Linked DNA regions of Homo sapiens: region 2 is linked to region 1. The links are contacts of gene promoters, found by promoter capture Hi-C in human tissues and cell types (Jung and others, 2019). All regions are on one chromosome and are shown on one strand. The core of a region is centred on a gene start or on the middle of the fragment in contact, and the rest is flanking DNA. Distances in the headings are between cores, read along the strand shown.

The links. Contacts are between HindIII fragments. The study calls those that stand out against the background at their distance.
Region 2: a contact is called between the fragment with the promoter of HNRNPUL2-BSCL2 here and the fragment with the promoter of FTH1 in region 1, in 1 of the 25 tissues and cell types used here (heart left ventricle).

What each region holds. Positions count from the first base shown.
Region 1 is chr11:61,966,058-61,972,607 of GRCh38, forward strand. It overlaps FTH1 (ferritin heavy chain 1), which reads right to left and starts at 1,577. Exons shown (of 4, transcript NM_002032.3): 1 at 1,255-1,577. The coding sequence starts at 1,368. LOC399900 (a long non-coding RNA gene) reads left to right here and starts at 1,237. Exons shown (of 1, transcript NR_187560.1): 1 at 1,237-2,822. RefSeq lists silencers at 1,104-1,303, 1,574-1,923, enhancers at 2,444-2,513, 2,634-2,683, 5,820-6,114, 5,918-6,062 and cis regulatory regions at 5,549-6,308, 5,554-6,065, 5,985-5,995. The HindIII fragment of the contact is 11,433 bases long and covers 1-6,550 here.
Region 2 is chr11:62,723,800-62,730,349 of GRCh38, forward strand. HNRNPUL2-BSCL2 (HNRNPUL2-BSCL2 readthrough (NMD candidate)) reads right to left here and starts at 3,585. Exons shown (of 24, transcript NR_037946.1): 1 at 2,820-3,585; 2 at 492-627; 3 at 115-191. HNRNPUL2 (heterogeneous nuclear ribonucleoprotein U like 2) reads right to left here and starts at 3,658. Exons shown (of 14, transcript NM_001079559.3): 1 at 2,820-3,658; 2 at 492-627; 3 at 115-191. The coding sequence starts at 3,357. TTC9C (tetratricopeptide repeat domain 9C) reads left to right here and starts at 4,687. Exons shown (of 3, transcript NM_173810.4): 1 at 4,687-5,287. The coding sequence starts at 5,050. RefSeq lists silencers at 3,099-3,478, 3,649-3,808 and enhancers at 4,069-4,118, 4,369-4,568, 4,959-5,068. The HindIII fragment of the contact is 23,424 bases long and covers 1-6,550 here.

The DNA of each region.
Region 1 (6,550 bases), core at 327-2,826:
AGGTCAGCAGATCGAGACCATCCTGGTCAACATGGTGAAACCCCGTCTCTACTAAAAATAAAAAAAAATAGCTGGGCGTGGTGGCGTGCGCCTGTAATTCCAGCTACTCAGGAGCCTGAGGTAAGAGAATCACTTGAACCCAGGAGGCGGAGGCTGCAGTGAGCCGAGATCGCGCCACTGCACTCCAGCCTGGGCGACAGAGCGAGACTCTGTCTCTCACACACACACACAAATTAAAAACCCCCATGCAAGGTGGCAAATGTGGACAGTATGTTGATGTAAACATACTTTTATAATAGTTATATCACAAAAATTTGATTTTCAGTTTTAGACATTTGATGTAGTCAAGTGTTTGTGAAAGGCAGTGACAGTCACAGAAATACAGGCCTGTTTTCAAATCCATTTGGAACACATTTATTCTTGGGATAGTTTGGACAATCACAAGGCAATTCTAAGGAAGACTCCCACGACACTGCCTAAGACCAAGATTTGGGAAAACTGATTCCACTGATCACTGAAAAATTTCTTGCCCAGTAACTGTCGGTGGACTTTATCCAAGAACTGGGGGTTCAATTAGTAGGCCAAACTCCACACCTCTTACAGTAAGATACATAAAAGATAAATTAGGTCCCCTAGGCGCAAGGTCAGGTGACACTTCGGTGACTGCAGAAGGGGCGATTCCTAGAGATATGCTTCAAAGCAAGTGGGACTTAGAGATAAGCAGAGCCGAGAGGTGGATACGGCTGCTCGAGAGGGATCTACCCACAAGATAAGCCACCTCCCGCCAGCCCCCAAGGTTTGCTATTCGACACCGTTACCCAGCAGCTCCGCCACACACAGGCGGACGGGAGCTGGATACCTAAGCAAAAAACGCTGGCATTTAGGGCCAAATGCCGGAGGCAGAGGAAAAGATGGGAAAGCAAAACTCCACCTTCCTAACCGCAGGATTGATCACACAGGCTGGCAGTCTTGCAACCCCAGGATTTCAGGACACCAAGGTCTCCTTAAAAAAGAAGGGTGTGCAGAGGCGGCCCTGGCCTAGGAGGGAGCATTCTCAGGGTACAGCCGAGAAGAACCAGCTGCCCCGACTTTCTGCGCCAGAGAAGTCCTCGGAAACCTCGAGCAGCCTCCATTTTCCAGAAGGGCGCAGGGAGGCGGGAGAGCCCGCGGGTGGCCACACCCCCGGCCCGCCCCAGCGCGCGCCCCGGGAACCGCGCCCGGCCCCCGCCACCGCTTAGGCCCGCCCGCGCTCACCATGGACAGGTAAACGTAGGAGGCGTAGAGCTCCAGGTTGATCTGGCGGTTGATGGCGGCCTCTGAGTCCTGGTGGTAGTTCTGGCGCACCTGCGAGGTGGACGCGGTCGTCATGGCGGCGACTAAGGAGAGGCGGCGGCGGCGGCGGTGGCTGCGCGGCGCTGGAGCGGCGGCGGGGGCCTTGGGGCAGTCCGAGGGTGCGGTGAAGAGGTGACGGAGGGCTGGCTATGGGCGGCCGGCCGGGGTGGGGAACGAGCGCCGGGTTCCGTCCAAGCACTGTTGAAGCAGGAAACCCCGACGACTCTCGGCGAAGAACGTCTGGCCCTGCGGGTCGCTTGTGGTCTCTTATAGCCGCGTCGGCGTCAGGCCCGCCCCGGCCAATCAGCGCCGCCCGCCCCGAGCCCGCTCCTTCCGGTGGGCGCGGGACCCCGCCCCTGCTGTGGGGGAGGGGCGGCCGCTGGAGGCCCTCGCGCGCTCTGGCGGAGCTCGGGAGCGGGGACCGGTAGCCGACTGCCTCTGGGACAGCGGTGGCGTCTCTGTGCCCGTTTAGTGGAGTTGGAGGGAAGCTGCGAGGAGGCGCAGGAAGTCCACCTCAGAACCCCCCCCCCGGTCTAGGGGCGCCCGGGCGTTGGAACCGGCGGGGGAAGGGTGCGGGGGCGCATGGGGTGATCCTGATTCGGCTCCCATTTTCCCGAACGGGCACCCTGAGGCTCCTGGCCCGGGGCATGGTGTTAGAAATCATAGCTGCGGAGAAGCCCTTGTGACACCTTGCTGCAGATTGGGAAGCTGCAGATGATTGGGAAGGTGGAAGGTGGAGACGCGGTCCTTAGGTGGTCGAGCGCATTTTCTCTTCCTCAGAGTCCAGGAAGGAGCGCGATGGAGAAGTGGGGCGCACGGCGGGTTTCGGGTCCGCCCCTGCCCTTCCGACTCCTCCGACCACGTCTGCCTTTGGCTGAAAGCAAATATGGCTCCGTGTGCGGTTTCTGCAACAAAGGCTGGGCGGGCCGGGTTTCCCTAGGGATGGGGACCGCCTCCCCGGGGAGTCGTGGGGGTGAGCCACCGGGGCCTCCGAGAGAATCGCTGGTGTCGCTTCGCACCCAAGGGACACATCTCGGGTTAGAAAGGAGAAACGACGTGGATCTAAAGGCGAAGCCCATGCTGAGGACTTTTCAAAATGGCCTCTTATCGGCCCCACTCACAGGAGCTTCAGGCTTCGGTGGCCCTGTAGGACAACCCTGGGGTGTCATTGGAGAGAAGCTGACGGGGTTAATGGCGGGTGACAGGTGAAAGAGACCCCGGAGGGGTGGGGCCGGTGTGTGTGGCTAAGCTGAGTCCCAGGCACAGGGTGGATGTGAATTTATGGGTGGCAGAGCTAGAGCTAGGCCCTGCCCTTACCTAGGTCCTGGCTTCGAGGTCCACTGTTCTGTCGCGTCTTTTGACGCATCGGTGGAAGAACTGAATTTCAGGATGCTCACAAACCTGCAGCTGGAAGCTAGACTTCCAAACCTTAGTTTAAAAAAGCAACTCTACTGAAATACTAAAATAAATTGCCGACGGAATTAGGGTGATTTCTTGTTCACGGTTTCATTTAAAAATGCACCTATGTTATTTACAGGAAAAACGTTTTAGTGGTGCTAGAGCTACAAGAATAAGGTAAACAGAAGGATGCTGCTAGACCAGGAGTACCTTACCCAGTCTGGGATAGGAGGAGGTCGGGGAAGCCCTCCCTAAGCAAGACACGTGAGCTGAGTTTGAAGAAAAAGTTAAAAGGAAGGTGAAGTGCGGGAGAGAAACAGGGAAGGGAATTTGGAGCAGAGTGAACAGCATATGCAAAGGTGTGGAAATGTGGAAATGCATGGCCTGTTAAAGCTGCCTTAAGAAAATATGTTGCCTGGGGCTGGGCGCGGTGGCTCATGCCTGTAATCCCAGCATTTTGGGAGGCCGAGGCGGGCGGATCACTTGAGGTCGGAGTTGGAGATCAGCCTGGCTAACTAACATGGCTAAACCCTTCTCTACTGAAAATACAAAAATTAGCCGGGCGTGGTGGCATGCGCCTGTAATCCTAGCTATTCTGGAGGCTGAGGCAGGAGAATCGCTTGAACCTGGGAGGCGGAGGTTGCAGTGAGCCGAGATCGCGCCTTTGCACTCCAGCCTGGAAGACAAAACAAAACTCCGTCTCAAAAAAAAAAAAAAAAAAGAAAGAAAGAAAGAATGTTGGCCTGGAAAGTACAGTTTATGTTGGGGGATGCTGGTTAGGGTGGAGAATAGGGGCAAGATCGGGCAGGGTTGTGTTCCATAAAAAGAGGTTAAACTTGATCCTAGAGACAGCATAGAGACACCTCATTAGCTTTGTTTTTAGAAACCTTACACTGGGAATCTCTTAGGATAAGAGTATAGCAAAGTCACCATATATAGGATCCAAAGCTTTCCTTTATAACAGTAACCACCAGTTAGAAAATATGGGGAAAAAAGAATGGAAAAAAAAATGTTTTTCACTTACATTGACAACAAAAGCTTAAAGTACCTTGGAATAAAGTTAACAAGAAATATATAGAAAAAACTATAAATGCTTACTGCTGGACAAAAAATTCAAAAAGCCTAGCATAAATGAAGAGGTACCATATTCCCAAATGGTCGGTCAATCTTCATTCTGTAAAGATGTCAGTTTCCCCAAATAAGCATAAATTCACTGCAATTTCCATAAGAGGCAGTTTTTTGTTTTTGTTTTTCCTCAGCCATTACTGTCTCTGGGACAGTATTTTTTTTTTTTTTGAAACTTCACAAAATGATTCTAAAGTTCATTTGGAGGAGTCAGTGTGTTGATAGATTTGCATTTGGTGCTATAATAAAGGTACAGTAAAGTGCTATAAGCAGTATGGTACTGGCACAGGAAGAGATGACTAGATTAATGCAACAAAATAGTCCTGCCCCCCTATTATGAGAACTTGGTATATGCTAAACTGTTGTGTCACATTAGGGAAGAAAGAATGGGTTTAACAAATTATGTTGAAACAATTGACAGTCATGTGGAGAAAAGTGACTCACTCAGTATTTAAAAATACATTCCAGATAGATTAAAAATCCAAGCCTTAAAAAAAGTATAAAGTTTTGAGAAGAATATATACAAGATTATTTTTATAATTTTGGGGTAGGGAATGTTCTTCTGAGGCTGTCAGAAGCCGTAAAAGTACAGTTGGCAGGTTTGCCTATTTAAAAATGAAAAGCTGTAAGACAAAAGATGTTGTAAACAAGGTTAAAACAGAGATGACAAATTGGGATGATATTTGTAGCTCATGTAAGTGATGAAGATTAGGAACTATAATATATATTTGTATGTTTAATGAAGTACTATGTATGTGTCACACCTTTTTTTTTGAGATGGAGTTTTGCCCTTGTTGCCCAGGCTGGAGTGCAGTGGCTTGATCTCGGCTCACTGCAACCTCCACCTCCCGGGTTCAAGAGATCCTCCTGCCACAGCCTCCCAAGTAGCTGGGACTACAGGTGCCTACCACCACACCTGGCTGATTTTTGTGTTTTTAATAGAGACGGGGTTTCACCATGTTGGCCAGGCTGGTCTCGAACTCCTGACCTCAAGTGATCCACCTGCCTCGGCCTCCCAAAGTGCTGGGATTACAGGCATGACCCACCGCACCTGGCCTTATGAGACCCTTTTGATTGCCTGCGCTGGTGCTGTAGATGGTAAGCTCCTGGAAGGCAGGCATTGTTTCTGTCTTGTCTCTGCACTCCCAGCTTTTTGCAAATTGCTTGTTACTTGGTGCCCAGTATCTGTTGCATGAACAGATGGATTCATGATTGAATGTGGAGGATGGATGAGAGTGAGGCTAGAGGGCTGGGCACCAGTCAGGAGGCAGCAGCCTTAGTTATTAGTGAGCAGAGAAGATAGAACACAGATTTGACAGATCTGGAGAAGATCAAATGAACAGACTGATTGGCGAAAGTCGGGGGCCAGGGGTGGGCAGTGTGTAAGAGATCTCTCAGCTTTATGATTTGGTAGGCCTGGCTGCTGCTGCCATTCCCTGAGCCAAGGAGCACAGGAGGAAATGAAGGTTTCGGGGAAAGCCCTTGGGGAAGGCCTGCTTGGTTTTGGACTAGATGTGCTGAGTTTCCAGGCTTCCGGGATGTCCAGGGGGACAAAGCCAGCATGAAGCTCTCGGACCCACTGGAGGGAAGTCGGTCTGCTGCAGGGAGTAGGTTTCCTGAATCAGTGTTGGCTCCATGCTTGGCTAAACATGCATGTAGCTGCAGTGAACATCGCAGCAAGACTGAGGGACAGCTTGTGCTGTAGAAGGTCATTGGGAGGAGGCTGGCTGGGAACAATGGAAGGGAAATCTATTGGTGGGGGAGTGTGAGTGTGTGTGTGTGTTTATGATTGTTTATATGATTGCTTGTGTCCGTTCCCTACTTTCTGGTAACTTGAGGTGTCAGAACTGCAATGTCTAAGCCTTTAGATTCTTCCGAAGCTGTGGCCTGGTCTTGGGACCTTTGTTGACCAGGGTTCTACCTCCCCCACCCTCCAGCTCAGCTCCTCGTGACTTGGAGGCAGCAGAGAGTTTGGCTGGTCTCCCAGGACAGCCGCCTCCCAGGGCCAGGAGTGGCGGGAGGGACCTCAGATGAGAGAAGAGCCAAGCCGGTGGTTTCTGGAGGTTCAGCACATCCTGGAGCAGGAGGGGGCGGTGGTGGGGGTTGCGGTGGAGAGTTGCTGTCCCACCGTGACTCAGCACTCTGCTAGGCTGGGCTTGGGCTCAAAAAGTGCTTTGTCATGGAGGAGAAGAGCAGTCATAAGACCTGGAGGGCTGTGGCTTCACTGTGGAGGGAGGGAGGGAGGGAGGGAGGGAGGGAGGGAGAGTGTCCCCCTCCCCCCATTTCCTAATGGGACAAAGTCCAGAGGCCGGACTGGGAACAAAGGGGTCTGAGATCACTCAGGGGGGCCTCTGATGGTGTTTTTGCTGGCAAGCCTAGGTGTCACTTTTCCTACCTATCCCTCGCTCAGTGCCTTCCCGCCGCATGGGGAATTCTCAATAGATGTTGGGTCCCTTTCTCTTCTAGGGATTGTTATTGTGTAGTCACAATTTAGGATCCACAGCTAGGAAATCATAGACCCCCCACAAATTTTAAGGCTTTGGAAAGGACGTTAGAGCTTCCAAATCATCATGTTTTACAGATAAGGTGAGACCCAAAAAAGGTTAGGCTTGCCCAAAGCCGTAGAGTCACTGGCTGAAACACAAGCTGAAAACTAGGACAGGGCACATGATGGAACCCCGCATGGCCATTAAAT
Region 2 (6,550 bases), core at 2,335-4,834, 760 kb after region 1:
AGTTGTTGTAGTGGATACAAAGTCTCATAGAATTTATAGGCTATGAAGTTTTAATCTCCAAAATCACTTTTAGGAGATTAGTTAAAAACCACAGTCTGTCTGCCTTATACATACACGTGTCCAGGTTCACAAGAGTTTGATCCTCCTCCTCATCTTTTGCCTCTTCTTCAGGAGGCAGTGGAGACTTTGAGCTATATATGTAAGATAGAAAAGAAACACAATGTAAACAAAGCCCTCTTCTTTGAGGGGTGTGTGTGTATGACATTATGTCCATTTTAAACTGTCAGTGAATATCAAATCCCAGCAGACAGCTTTTTCCAATAAATGAGAAAGGGCAATAGGAGTTTCCATGGTAGATGCAATCTAAAACTCATGCCTATAAAAACCTATTCCATTTTGAATCCACCCTCCTTCCAGTCTCTCCAGTCAATACCAGGTATACCAAAATCAGAGCAGACACTCCCTTCAACGAAAGGGACTGTTTCCCTCACCGGCTGTGGTAAGCCTCCTCTCGGAATTCATAGTAAGCTCGGCCATGTTCATCCTTCTCATCCCGCTGTCTCTTTACCCCCCGCCGCTCACCATCTGAGCCTGCTGGTTTTGACTTTTCACTATCCTGGTCATCTCCTACAAAAACGAGGGAAAGAAAATCAGCAGTTTTCATACTGGAGTGTAGAATAAGCTCACAACTAATAGACACTAACAGGGAATCTGAGAATCTGTCTGATCAAAACAGCCAGGTTATTCCCACTACATTCACATAACATTTTATTTCTAAAGATCAGCTTTCTGTCATTGGCTGTGATTTAATTTTTTTAAAAAGGGGCATTATGGGCTAATTACAGTCAAGCACTAGATAAAAATTGGACAATTTTTGCATTCTAAATTTATCCACTTAAATCAGGTCAAACTTGCAGATTTCCCCATCAATATGACATAAAAAATATCCTCTAGGTCTCTAAGAAAACCTCAAAGGTTAATTTAATTTTGACTCTTGTCAGATCTAGATTTAAGGTAGGCAGTTAGTACATATTTTGTAACACTTTTCCACACCTTCATGATACAGAGAAGCCTCAATTTCTTTTATTTCCCTTTCCTGCACTGAAATACACAGCCATCCATGGCTTTATTCATGTGGCAAATGGACTCAAGTGCATTATACACAGCTGTATTTTTATCAGGGACTTCTACTGAAAGTTGCAAGAGCAAACCACTAAGTCACAAGAGATCCATAAATAATACCGCATCTAGACTGCACATTTGGGGCAGAAAGGTGTTGTTGTATATTTAGCAACTTCTCTGCAAGAGGAAAAAACTTGGAGTTTTTCCCTAGGCTTCTGTATTTTGCAACACTAGGAAGGTTTTTAATAATAATTTCTTTAAAGCAGTCTTTTATCCTTCAATATATATTTTTTTGAGACAGAGTCTCGTTCTGTCGCCCAGGCTGGAGTGTAGTGGCGCGATCTCAGCTCACCGCAACCTCCGCCTCCCGGGTTCAAGCCATTCTCCCGCCTCAGCCTCCCAAGAAGCTGGGATTACCGGCACCCGCCATCACGCCCGGCTAATATTTTGTATTTTTACTAGAGACAGGGGTTTCACCATGTTGACCAGGCTGGTCTCAAACTCCTGACCTCAGGTGATCCACCCGCCTGGCCTCCCAAAGTGCCAGGATTACAGGCGTGAGCCACCACCCCCAGCCTATCCTTCAATTATTTTTTTATCTGCTCTTTGGGATATACATAAGTCAAAGGTTATGTAATGGGATTTTTGCTCCGGGACACAGGACAAACAATCTGCAAGTTGCATGTGATTGTTGTACAATGGGTTCCGATTATACCATGACTCTCCATAGTGGCCTAAAAATATTACTAACAAAAGAACTGAGGCCACCCACTTTATAGTAAGACTTATCCTCCCTACTCGGACACACACTGTTATGGATCAGTTCTAACCATCCAATCACTTCAAAAGAAAGGAGAAAGGTCACTAACTCCCTGGGGCGATTCTACAACACACCTCTTCCACAAGGTTACTCAACGGACCCAACAGCACCTCAGTCATTACCATTCAGGAACCGAGGGACCTGAAACGTAAAAGACTAGCACCAGGTGTTCAGCAAATCTACAAATATGCCTATCCACGGACTCAGTGGGACAATTAAAATTTAATCATAATCCAAGCAAGATAAAAACCCTAGCCAAGTAACGTTAACTAACTCTAAATGAACTAGATTAAGATTTTTCTCTTCACTGGTTAACTATTAAACTCGACACTGTTACACTAGAGGCTCTCCCTTACAGCTCAAAGAGGAGCAAGGTTGGATTTTCAGATTCTCTGTGGCTCAAGCTCTGGTAACATGCTTTTAATGGAACGGACTTTGACGGACTTCGATTTTTGCTTAACATTTTTACGGCGAAAAAGTTAGGTCAGGTAGCCCAAAGACCTGACCCTCTAACTGTGGGCCTAGTTCTCCGTGTAATCCCCAATTGCTTAGCACTTTCTCAGCTAAGAAAAATATAACAAGCACCGTGGGAGACTGTTCCACAGGTAGCTCACAAGTAGTTCGCATGCAAAATCACTCACTGCCATCCACTATCACCAAGGAACCAAGTTAGGCAGGAACCTTCCTCCTGCAAAGAGTAGGGCCACGAGAGGCGGCCTAACCCCTCAGAAAGGTGGGTAGAGAATGAAAGGAGTTCCATCAAATGGCACTTTGAGGCAAGCGAGAACAAGGACTCGGACCCTGCGGTGCAGGGCGGGGTGCTAGATCAGGGGCGCAGCCGGCAGGTTGGAGCCGGGCTCGGCTGCCAGCTCCTCACCCTGTTCCTCGGCGGCCTTGTCACCCGGCACCTCGGATCCCGGCGTCTCGTCCCCGCTCCGCTCCTCGGGTTCGTCTTCCTCCCTCTTGCCGAGGCCCTGCTCTTCGCCACCATTTACCCCGCCTGACCCGGCCGTGGCCTCCGCCGGCTTCTCGGAAGCATCTGGCTCGGCCGCGGCCTCCATGGCTGCCGCCTCCGGGGGCTCCGGCGGCGGCTGCGCGGCCTGACCCAAGGCTTGAGCAGGGGGTGGCTCCTCGTCCTCGTCCTCAAGCAGCGCCTCCTCGTCCTCCTCCTCCTCCTCTTCGTCCTCCTCCTCGTCCCCGCCCGGGCCGCCGCCCGACGCGGCCACAGGCCGAGGCTCCGCCTTGCAGGCCCCGCCGGGCCCGGCCCCGCCGCCGCCGGCCTCGTCCTCGAGCATCTCGGCGTCCAGCGCCTCCTGCAGCCGCTGCGCCAGATCCACCTTGAGGCCGCGCGAGTCCAGGCCCCGCCGCTGCAGCTCCGACCGCAGCTCGGTCACTTTCAGCCGCTTCACCTCCATCGCCGCCGCCGCCTCCTCCGCCTCCCGCCGCCTCCTCCCCTGCGAACCGTCGACCGAGTCCGACCGCGCAGGCGCCGCCGCCGCCGCCCGCCTCCGCCTCACGCGCCAGCACTGAGCCCGCGCGAGCGAGCGCACGCACGCAGGAGCGGAGGCCGCGCACGGTCCCGCTGCGCAGTGTTTGCTTCTCCTTCGTCTCCCCTCCCCCTTTCGGCTCACGGAGCCCAAAACAACGCAGCAGGGAGCTGTTTCCCCTCCAGGCCCTTGGTTCCCCAGCCGCGGGCAGGCGCGCGCGGAGGACGACGGAGTTCCTCCCGCTTCCTCCCGCCCTCTGGCGCCCCCGGGCCAATCGCCGCCGGTGCTTTTATCGCGCAGCCGCAGTGGAGTCCAAGACGGGCAAGGCTGGCTGCAGCTCAAGTGCCTCGTAGCACGGAAGCGTGTGCGCGCCGGTCTTTCAGTACTTCCAGCCGGGGAGTTCTGCGCAGCCGCCCGGAGCTCCCCGATGCCATGCCCCTCCCACCACCCTTACTTCCGTCTGACTTCCATTTGCTGTGGCGTTTTAGGGGTCGCTAGCCTCTTTTCCCTACTGTCTGTGCTTGCAGCAGTAACGACAAAAAAAAAGTCATTAGAGAATGTGTTGCAACATGTAAGCCTAGTAGCAATTGTTTTTCTGGCTAGGAAGCAAAAGGGCTCCCCAGAACGAAGAAATACTGTAATCCGGGCCCTCCTTTTTCCTCAACGCCTCAACTTCTACCCAGCAACAGAGGCCCTTGAACCCGCCCTTTTTCTCTTATTGGACAACTTGAATCGTCATTTGCCGTTCCGATTGGTCATCCGTGATCGTCCGGATTTTTCCAATTGGCGAAGCTGCCAGGGGAATTTTTTTTTTTTTTTTTTCCCAGGTTGGTCCGCTGAGGAGGCGGGGTCGTTTCTGCGGGATTATTTTTCCGGAGCCTCTTCTGATTGGGTGGTGTGGCGCAATGCGCGCGACCCTCAAGATACCAAACTGTACGCATCTCTGACCCTTTCCTCTCCTTGCTCCTGCTGGTAAACCGAAGCCCAGGAGACTTCCAGGTTTGGGCATCTGCAGAGGGCGAGGAACTGGTCACGGCGCCGGGTGGGCTTGCAGCTGTGACGCTTATGTGGACACCTCAGTGTCGCTGGTGGTTCACCTCGGCTTCCCAGTTTATTTATTGACGTCAACAAATAAATGTTGAATAAGGAAGAAGAGTTAGAATTGCTTGAAGCCCTCTGGAGTTTTAGCACTAGTCCCGCCCACTCCCTTCTACTTCCAGGTCGGGGGGGGGCGGGTCCAATAGAAAGGCGGAAGCCAGTGTCCCAGGCGTTCTCACGCCCGCAACAATTCCTGAGTAGGGCCTTGCTTGAGTTCTTCGGAAAGTCTCATCCACCCCCACATCGCCTCTTTAGGAAGTCACTTAATGTTGGGCTTCATTATTCCCACATCCCTTTCCTTACTACTTGCCTGCACTTCTTGAGAAAAAGACTGCAGAAAGGAGAGGTGGGGCTTTCAGTAGAAACAAGCAAACCGCAGGTCCCTGTGGGGGGACTCTCCAGGAAGAAGGGTAATTTCCTGCCTCCTTAAATTGGCTGCTACTGTCAGTTATTTTGCTCCCAACCCCAGAGCTTCACTTGCTCCTTCACTTCCCAGTTCCGCAAGAACCGTGGGCGACAGTTATGGAGAAGCGTCTGCAGGAGGCTCAGCTGTACAAGGAGGAAGGGAACCAGCGCTACCGGGAAGGGAAGTACCGAGATGCTGTGAGTAGGTACCATCGAGCTCTGCTTCAGCTGCGGGGTCTGGATCCGAGTCTGCCCTCTCCGTTACCTAATCTCGGACCTCAGGGCCCGGCCCTCACGCCTGAACAAGAAAACATATTGCATACCACCCAGACAGACTGCTATAACAATCTAGCTGGTAAGAACGGGGCTAAAGGGTGGCTAGAGAGCATTAAGACAGGAACATGAACATCTGTGAACATTGGGGGAAAAAACGCTGACTTTTTTTTTTTTTTACTGTCATCCATTTATTCTGCCATGAATTGGAATAACCTGTCAATCTGTGCGGCTGTAATTAAGTTGCCATAGAGCAGGGCTTCTCAGACTTCACCTGGAGAGTCTGTTAAAACACAACCTCCTCGGCCCCATCCCCAGAGATTCGGATGGGTCTGACGTGGGGCCTATCAGTTTGCATTTCTTTATTTTTTTATTTTATTTTATTTTATTTTATTTTATTTTATTTTTTTTTGAGATGGAGTCTCGCTCTGTCTCCCAGGCTGGAGTGCACTGGCGCGGTCTGGGCTCACTGCAGCCTCCCCGTCCCGGGTTCAAGCAATTCTCCTGTCTTAGCCTGCCCAGTAGCCGGGATTACAGGCGCCCGCCAGCCACCACGCCCAGCTAATTTTTTTTTTTTTTTTTTTTTTTGAGACGGAGTTTCGCTCTTGTTGCCCAGGTTGGAGTGCAGTGGCGTGATTTCGGCTCACCGCAACCTCTGCCTCCCGAGTTCAAGCGATTCTCCTGCCTCAGCTTCCTGAGTAGCTGGGATTACAGGCATGCGCCACCATGCCCAGCTAATTTTTGTATTTTTAGTAGAGACGGGGTTTCATAATATTGGTCAGGCTGGTCTTGAACTACTGACCTCAGGTAATCCACGCGCCTCTACCTTCCAAGGTGCTGGGATTACATGCGTGAGCCACCGCACCCAGCCCCAGTTTGCATTTCTAACAGCCTTCTGGGTATTGTTGATAGCTTTAGGTAATTTTGCATGCTATAGGGAAAAACTATACTTAAGGTCAGGCCATTGTTTATTTAAGGGACATTTAATATTTGTGAAACACGTTCATTTCTTTAGCTGCTAGTTTAGATCCCTTATATTCAGTGGGTCGTATAGCTTTTCCTCATTTTTCTTTTCCTTTTTCTTTTTTTGAGAAGAGCTTCGCTCTTGTTGCCCAAGCTGGGGTGCAATGGCACGATCTCGGCTCACTGCAACCTCCTCCTCCCGGGTTCAGGCGATTCTCCTGCCTGAGCCTCTGGAATAGCTGGGATACAGGCGCGTGCCACCACGCCTGGCTAATTTTTTGTATTTTTAGTAGAAACGGGGTTTCACCATGTTAGCCAGGCTAGTCTGGATTCCTGACCTCAGGTGATTCGCCCGCCTCGGCCTCGCAAAGTGCTGGGATTA